Linked DNA regions of Homo sapiens: region 2 is linked to region 1. The links are contacts of gene promoters, found by promoter capture Hi-C in blood cells and fetal thymus (Javierre and others, 2016). All regions are on one chromosome and are shown on one strand. The core of a region is centred on a gene start or on the middle of the fragment in contact, and the rest is flanking DNA. Distances in the headings are between cores, read along the strand shown. Region 1 holds the start of FZD8 (frizzled class receptor 8). Region 2 overlaps ZNF25-DT (ZNF25 divergent transcript).

Evidence for each region. Contacts are between HindIII fragments. The CHiCAGO score rates a contact against its expected background, and 5 or more counts as called.
Region 2: a contact is called between a fragment that was not itself captured here and the fragment with the promoter of FZD8 in region 1, in 1 of 17 cell types (naive CD8 T cells). The highest score is 5.1, in naive CD8 T cells.

Annotation. Positions count from the first base shown.
Region 1 is chr10:35,639,889-35,644,034 of GRCh38, forward strand. FZD8 (frizzled class receptor 8) reads right to left here and starts at 2,408. Exons shown (of 1, transcript NM_031866.3): 1 at 1-2,408. The coding sequence starts at 1,541. LOC124902528 (zinc finger protein 469-like) reads right to left here and starts at 2,958. Exons shown (of 2, transcript XM_047426128.1): 1 at 2,742-2,958; 2 at 1,840-2,525. The coding sequence starts at 2,958. The coding sequence ends at 1,840. MIR4683 (microRNA 4683) reads right to left here and starts at 1,364; the gene lies at 1,284-1,364. It overlaps LOC105376494 (a long non-coding RNA gene), which reads left to right and starts at 3,427. Exons shown (of 2, transcript XR_930820.3): 1 at 3,427-4,146. RefSeq lists silencers at 33-327, 867-956 and an enhancer at 597-756. The HindIII fragment of the contact is 11,239 bases long and covers 1-4,146 here.
Region 2 is chr10:37,979,531-37,983,676 of GRCh38, forward strand. It overlaps ZNF25-DT (ZNF25 divergent transcript), which reads left to right. Exons shown (of 6, transcript XR_930830.4): 2 at 759-880. Among named protein-coding and RNA genes, the nearest start is that of ZNF25-DT, 4.8 kb to the left of the region's middle. The HindIII fragment of the contact is 7,521 bases long and covers 1-4,146 here.

The sequences.
Region 1 (4,146 bases), core at 1,158-3,657:
ATGACCGAGCGGATGCGGAAGAGGGACACGAAGCCGGCCAGCAGGAACATGGTGCCGATGAAGAGGTAGATGACCAGCGGCGCCAGCACGAAGCCGCGCAGGTTGTCCAGGCTCTGGTTGCCCACGTAGCAGATGCCCGCCACCGGGTCGCCGTCCACCGAGCTGAGCGCCAGCACCGCGATGGACTTGACGCTGGGCACAAGCCACGCGGCCAGGTGGAAGTACTGCGAGTAGCCGGCGATGGCTTCGTTGCCCCACTTCATACCGGCCGCCAGGAACCATGTGAGCGACAAGATCACCCACCAGATGGAGCTGGCCATGCCGAAGAAGTAGACCAGCAAGAAGACCACGGTGCACAGCGCGGGGCCGGTGGTCTCGTAGCGCACGTGCTGCTCCACCGCGCCCAGCTCCTCGTACTCGCCGCGCCCGCCCGGGCCGCCCGCGCCCGCGCCCGCCGCGCCCGCGCCCGCCGCCGCGCCGCCCGCGCCCCCAGCGCCCCCCGCGCCCGGCGCGCCACCGCTGCACGCCACCTTCTCGTGGCCCGCCACCAGGCGCACTAGGTAGCCCACCGACACGAAGAGGTAGCAGGCCGAGAGGAAGATAATGGGCCGCTCCGGGTACTTGAAGCGCTCCATGTCGATAAGGAAGGTGGAGACGGTGGCGAAGGTGGACACGAAGCAGAGCACCGACCACAGGCCGATCCAGAAGACGGTGAAGGCGCGCTCGTCCTGGCTGAAAAAGGGGTTGTGGCAGGGCAGCGCGCAGTTAGCGATCTGGCCTGTCTTGACGCGGTTGTAGAGCGGGTGGCGCTCGCTGGACACGCTCACCATAGGCGCGCGGCACTGGCACCCGGGCTCGCAGGGAGCCGCGCCGCCGCCAGGGGGCCGCGCCTTCCCGCCACCGCCGCCGCCGCGAGCTGGGGGCGCCGCCGCGTCCCCGCCGCCACCGCCCCTGCCGCCGCCGCGGTGCGGGGGCCTGGCCCCCGGCGGGCGGCCGTGGCCGCTGCCCGAAGGCGGCTGCTCGCCGGGCGGCGGCGGCGGCAGGCGGCGCGGCGGGCTGGGCGCGGCGGTGGTTAGGTCGGTGCGGTTGTAGTCCATGCACAGCGTGTCAGGGTTGCCTTGCTCGGGCAGCCGGTCGCAGCGCATGCGGTCGGGCCAGGCGAAGCCGTACTGGCGCATGAGCGGCGCGCAGCCGGCCTTGGCGCGCTCGCACACCGAGCGGCAGGGCGGCAGCGGCTTCTTGTAGTCCTCTAGGCAGATGGGCGTGTACATGCTGCACAGGAAGAACTTGAGATCGGGCGAGCACTGGATCTCCACCAGCGGCCAGAACTGGTGCACCTCCAGGCCCGCCTCGTCTTGCGTGTCGTGGTTGAACTGATTGGGCATGTAGGTGTAGTTGTAGCCGATGCCCTTACACAGCGGCACGGTGATCTCTTGGCATGCCAGCTCCTTGGCCGAGGCGGCCGCAGCGCCGCTAGAGCGCTGCAGCAGCGCCAAGGCGGCCAGCAGCGAGGTCACTTCCAACAGGTAACCCCACTCCATGCTGTGCGCCTCGGCCCGGTGCCCTCGCCCTCCAGGCGGCGCGCAGAGGGGTGCCGGGGGGGGGGCCCACGAGAGAGCCGCAGACGGGTACAGCGGGTGATCTGGGGTCTCCCTTATGCTTCGCCCGGGAGGGGGGTCTGCCGATAATCTAACCCCTTCTAGGGGCGCGTCCGCAGCGGCGCGGCCCGCAGCCTGGGCAGGGCCCTTCCGCACTCCTTTCCGCCGCTCCGGGGGTTTGAAGGCGGCTGCAGGCGCGCGCCACAGTCCGTAGGTCCGCTCTGCTGGCCCCGGGTCGCGCTCAGCCCTCGCGGCGCAGAGCGGCCGGGCCTCGGCTCATCGTCCCGCGCTCGCTCGCCTCCTCTCCGCGCGCCCGACCACTTCTCCCCGCCGCGCCGGGCGGCGGTGACTCCGCCGGACAGAGAGGGCGGAGGCGCCGCAAGTTTCCTCTGGGGCCGCGGTGCGCAGTCAAGATGGCTGGGCCGGGCCGCTTGCCGCGCCGGGTCAGCCCTGGCGGCCACCACTCGGCCCCCGGGGGCTCATGCCCGCCCCCAAGGCCAAGCCGCCGCCGCCGCCGCCGGAGTTGGGGACCCGCCTCGGCCCAGGCCGCCGCCCTCTTTCTCCGGCGTCCGTCCTTCGTCCGTCCGCCGCCGGGACAGACGGACCCCCGCCGCCTGGAAAAGTCAGCGCCGCGCTCCGGCCGCAGTCGGGCGAGGTGCACACAGTCTCCTTCCTGCTGGACACCCAGGAGCAAATCCAGACCGGAAGGCGGAGCGGACACCTGAGTGGCGCGGCCCGCGCCCAGCCGCCGCCTCCTCCTCGGCGGGAGCAGCGCCCTTAGCCCAACTTCCCGGCTCCAGCCCCGCTCGCGCCGCGCTGCCGGCTCATGAATATTTATACAGCGCGGACTCGGTCTCCGCCCCCAGCCCCGCGAGCCAATCGCCGGGCGGTAGGGCGGAGTCCACGCGCTCCCAGGGCTCAGCCTTCCTTAAGGCAGTCCCCGAGTGTCCGCACTGCTGTGCGCGCTCTCTGCGGATGGAGAGTTTTGGTAACCTTGGGATTGACCGCAGAGACAGAGTGTTGGCCATGGCTGTCCCCATGGCGCTGAGTGCGTCGGAGGTCTTGGTCCCCTTACCCCGAGTCTGCCCTTGGGGACAGGGACGGGGTTTGGTGCAGCGCGCGCCTCCCCGGCGCGTTTCAAACCAGCCAAGCCCCTGCTGCCACCCTCCGCAAATGTGGGTGATCTGCAGGCGGCTGGGGTCTCGTGCTCCTCGGGGCGGCAGGAAGGTCTCGCAGCAGGCGAGCGCCGGGGAGGCCTGCCGGGGCTCGGCGCTGCAGAAGACCCGGGAAAGGGTGTCCTCCTTGGGGTTCTCAGAACGATGGTTTCTGAGACTTGGAGATGTGGGGGGTGTGGAGTCATTCTAAACTGGGGCTGGACCCGGGACGGCCCGGGTGAGATGCCCCGGAGCCCAGCCTTGGGCGCGCGAGGGGCGCGGGGGACAAATGCCCGCCAGAGACTCTCCTCCCGCCTCCGCTGCGTGACCTGGGGGAGCCTCAGTTTCCCCACCTAGAGAGTTGGGTGATCATAGCACAGATCTCCAAGGGGGCTTTGATAATTAGGTGAGATAAAATATAGGAAGCCCCGAGCCGCCGTGCTTTCTTAGGAAAAATCATTCAATTTCTTTCTAAAATTCAAAACAAACCTCGAAACTTATAAATAGGACAGGCTGGAAACTCTGGGGCTGGATTCCCTGTCTTCCCTTCGTTCTTTCAGGACGTCTATTCATCCATCCCAAGTTCACAGGCTTTTGCCAGAGCCTCCTTTTCTCTGGTGGGAGGCGGCGCTGCGCTCTGGCGTGGACTCCGCGACACGTATCTGCTCTCTGCACGAGGCCGGAGCCGGACCCGGGCTGCTTTTAGCAGCCGCTTGGGCCACCGCCAGCGAACGCTGCCCCCGCCGGCTCCGCCGCCACCTTAAGACGGGCCGGGAGGGGGGCTGCGGGCGGCCCGGGCCGGCGGCCTGGCAGGTTCATTTACGCTTGTTAGGGCGTCCCAGGGGGCTGTCTTTCTCCTAGAATGGAGTGTTTATTTTTTAATTGATGTGCTGTTTCATTTAGCGCTTGTATGGAACTCATGCTGGGGCAGTAATTACTGTAATCTCGGGAACAAGCATTTCAGTTAGCCAGGAGGGTGGCAGAATATGTTTCTCTCTCTCTTTCTCTCCCTCCCTCCCGCCTCCTCCCCATCTCCGTCCCCCTCTCTCCCTCTTCCTCCCTGCCTCTCTTCTGTCTTCCCTCTCTCTCTCTCCCCACCTCCTTTCCTTCTCTCTCTCCCCCACCACTTTCTCTCCCCCCTCCTCCTCTTCCCCTCCTCCCTCTCCTTCCTTCCCTCCCTTTTCTCTCCGCTCTCTCACTCTCTTCTTGTTTCAAGATTTTTGCTATTTGCCAGGTTTCATACCGGAACAAGTACAGTTGGAGAACAAAAGTTGCAGAGGGCGTGGGGACAGAGCAAAAGAATTAAAAGTACATTTGAGGCCAGTTCCGGTTTTCGGGGCGCTGCTGGTGGTGGTGGTAGCTCGTGGTTGTCCGTTCAGAAACAACTCTTGTCA
Region 2 (4,146 bases), core at 1,177-3,676, 2.3 Mb after region 1:
ATAAATCTCTTTAAATATTTTACAGAGTTGACTTTTTTCATTGACAGAACTTTTTTTGAAAATGCAAATTTAAAAAGTAATTTAAGGCTGGGCGTGGTAGCTCACCCCTGTAATCCCAGCACTTTGGGAGGCTGAGGTGGGAGGATCACGAGGTCAAGAGATCGAGAATATCCTGGCCAACATGGTGAAACCCTGTCTCTACTAAAAATACAAAAATTAGCTGGGCATGGTGGTGCATGCCTGCAGTCCCAGCTACTCGGGAGGCTGAGGCAGGAGAATCACTTGAACCTGGGAGGCAGAGGTTACAGTGGGCCAAGATCGTGCCACTGAAATCCAGCCTGGCAACACAGTGAGTCTGTGTCTCAAAAAATAAATCAATGAAATAAAAAGTAATTTAAGTTTGATGCTAGTTTCGAAAAAGCACAGAAGATCCAAATATACATGAGAATTTAGTATATGTTAAAATTTTCATTGAAAACAAAACAGTGTGGACATATATATATACCTTTTTTTCTTTTCTTTCTAATTTGGTCTTGAGGTCTCTCTCTCCTAAGGGTGGCTATAAACTATCCCTGTGGGGCTCCTGGAATTTGGTGTCATGGATATTTGGTGTGCCATATGTTAAAAGTTTCATTTCAAATTTACTGAAAGTCCACTCTTAATTTTTAGAAGTTAGTAAGTTCCAAGAGAAGTAGCAATTTGAAGTCACTGGTGAAGGGTTCACACAAGGTGAATTTTTACATTTGGTTTCTCCACAGCATAAGGAATAAAACTGTTCTTTTGAAATGAAGAAGAGAACCACCTAGGAGACTATCACCCTGACCTGAGGACTTCACTAGGGATTCAGGAAAGAAGACACAGAAAGAAAGCAATCCTCAAGGTGTTATATCTGAATAGTTTAATTTTACTTAAAAATGTTTTTATTGAAGTATAAAAAATATAAAAGTATGCAATGGCATGTGTATCACTGTATAATTGATAAGTGAATGATGAAGAGAGGTAAACACAAACATGTAAACACCAAGGAGTTCAAAGACAATATTACCAGTGCCTGAAGTCTCCTTGAATGACCCATTCTTTATTGGTCATTTCTCTCCCTCTCAAAAGTAGCCCCATCTTGATTTCTGGTTTTTTTTTTTTTTTTTTGAGATGGAGTTTCTCTCTTGTTGCCCAGACTGGAGTGCAATGGCACGATCTCAGCTCACTGCAACCTCTGCCTCCTTGGTTCAAGTGATTCTCCTGCTTCAGCCTCCTGAGTAGCTGGGATTACAGGCATGTGCCACCATGCTTGGCTAATTTTCTGCATTTTTAGTAGAGACAGGGTTTCACCATGTTGGCCAGGCTGGTCTGGAACTCCTGACCTCAGATGATCCACCCACCTCGGCCTTGGAAAATGCTGAGATTACAGGCGTGAGCCACTGCACCCAGCCCCCATCCTCACTTCTAACAATAAAGACCAGTTTTGCAATTTATTATTGCAATTTCTTTTACTCATTTATTTTGAGGTAATCTTATTTTTAATTTTTTTTTTAGATAGAGTCTCACTCTATCACCCAGGCCGGAGTGCAGTGGTGCAATCTCGGCTTACTGCAACTTCCATCTCCCAGGTTCAAGCTATTCTTGTGCATCAGCCTCCCAAGTAGCTGGGATTACAGGTGTTTGCCACCATACCCGGCTATTTTTTTCTATTTTTAGTAGAGTTGGGGTTTCACCATGTTGGCAGGCTGGTCTTGAAATCCTGACTTCAGGTGATCTGTCCACCTCCACCTCCCAAAGTGCTGGGATTACAGACGTGAGCCACTGCACCTGGCCTGAAGTAATCTTTAACTTATAAATAAATTGCAAAAGTAGGATAAAGAATTCTCCTATAGGCCAGGCATGGTTGCTCCTGCCTGTAATCCCAGCATTTTGAGAGGCTGAGGCAGATGGATCACGATGTCAGGAGTTTGAGAACATAGTGAAACCCCATCTCTACTAAAAATATAAAAATTAGCTGGGTGTAGTGGTGCACACCTGTAAGCTCAGCTACTCAGGAGGCTGAGGCAGGAGAATTGCTTGAACCTGGGAGGCGGAGGTTACAGTGAGCCAAGATCATGCCATTGTACCCCAGCCTGGGTGACAGACTGAAACTCCATCTCAGAAAAAAAAAAATTGAATTATCATATATCCTTCACCAAGATAATTCCATCATTAATATTTTGGCACATTTGCTTCATAATTTTTGCTATTTGTGTATATTATGTATTTATTTTTCTTAATCATTTGAGAGTCAGTTGTAGGAATCATTCCACTTTACTCCTAAGTTCTTAGCTGTATATTTTCTATCAGCAAGGATAAAATTCTCAGATAACCATGGTACAGTGCTCAAAATCAGAAAAATTTAACAAAGATATAATATCTAATCTATAATGTACAGTCCATGTTCAAATTTCACTGATTGTCTCAATTAAGTCTTTTTTTTTTTTTTCTTGAGATGGAGTCTTACTCTGTCACCCAGGCTGCAGTGCTGTGGCACAATCTCGGCTCACTACAATCTCCCCTTCTCAGGTTCAAGTGATTGTCCTGCATCAGCCTCCTGAGTAGCTGGGACTACAGGCATGCACCACCATGCCCGGGTAAATTTTGTATTTTTTTTTTTAAGTAGAGATGGATTTTCACCATGTTATCCAGGATGATCTCGATCTCTTTACCTCGTGATCTCCCCATCTCATCCTCCTAAAGTGCTGAGATTACAGGCATGAGCCACTACGCCCAGCCTTCAATTAAGACTTTTATAGATAATTGTTTTTCTGATTCAAGATCCAATTCAAAAACTGTTTCTGGGCTGGGTGTGATGACTCATGCCTGTAATCCCAGTACTTTGGGAGGCCGAGGCGGGTGGATCACTTGAGGTCAGGAGTTTGAGACCAGCCTGGCCAACATAGTGAAACCCCATCTCTACAATAGATACAAAAACTATCTGGGCATATCAGGGGAACCTGCCCCCAATATTTCAACATAGGTTCTTTCTATTTTCCATAAGTGTCAGCCGGCTGAGAAAAATAAAGAGAAAGAGTACAAAGAGAGGAATTTTACAGCTGGGCCTCTGGGGGTGACATCACATCGGTAGGACCGTGATGCCCACCTGAGCCTTAAAGCCAGCAAGTTTTATTAAGGATTTCAAAAGGGGAGGGGGTGCAAGAACAGGGAGTAGGTCACAAAGATCACATGCTTCTAAGGGAAAAATCAGAAACTCCTAATAAGGGTCTAACAAAGATCACAAGACAAAGGGCAAAGGCAAAGATCACAAAGCAAAGGGCAAAAACAAGATCACAAGGCAAAGGGCAAAAGCAGAATTACTGATAAGGGTCTATGTTCAGTGGTGCACGTATTGTCTTTATAAACATCTTAAACAACAGAAAACAGGGTTTGAGAGCAGAGAACCAGGCTGACCTCAAATTTAGTGGGGCAGGGTTTTTCCCCACCCTAGTAAGCCTGAGGGTACTGCAGGAGACCAGGGCATATTTCAGTCCTTATCTCAACCATGTAAGACAGACACTCCCCTCGGGAGGCTGAGGCAGGAGAATGGCGTGAACCCGGGAAGCGGAGCTTGCAGTGAGCCGAGATTGCGCCACTGCAGTCCGCAGTCCGACCTGGGCGACAGAGTGAGACTCCGTCTCAAAAAAAAAAAAAAAAAAAAAAAAAAAGACAGACACTCCCAAAGAAGCCGTTTATAGACCTCCCCACAGGAATGCATTCCTTTCCCAGAGTATTAATCCTTGCTAGGAAAAGAATTTAGCGATATCTTCCCTACTTGCACCTCCATTTATAGGCTCTCTGCAAGAAGAAAAATATGGCTCTATTTTGCCCAACCCCGCAGGCAGTCAGACCTTATAGTTGTCTTCCCTTGTTCCCTGAAAATCGCTGTTATTCTATTCTTTTTCAAGGTGCAATGATTTCATATTGTTCAAACACACATGTTTTACATTCAATTTGTACAGTTAACACAATAGTGGTCCTGAGGTGACATACATCCTCAGTTTACGAAGATAATAGGATTAAGAGATTAAAGTAAGACAGGAGAAAGAAATTATGAAAGTATTATTTGGGAACTGGTAAATGTCTATGAAATCTTCACAATTTATGTTCCTCTGCCACGGCTCCAGC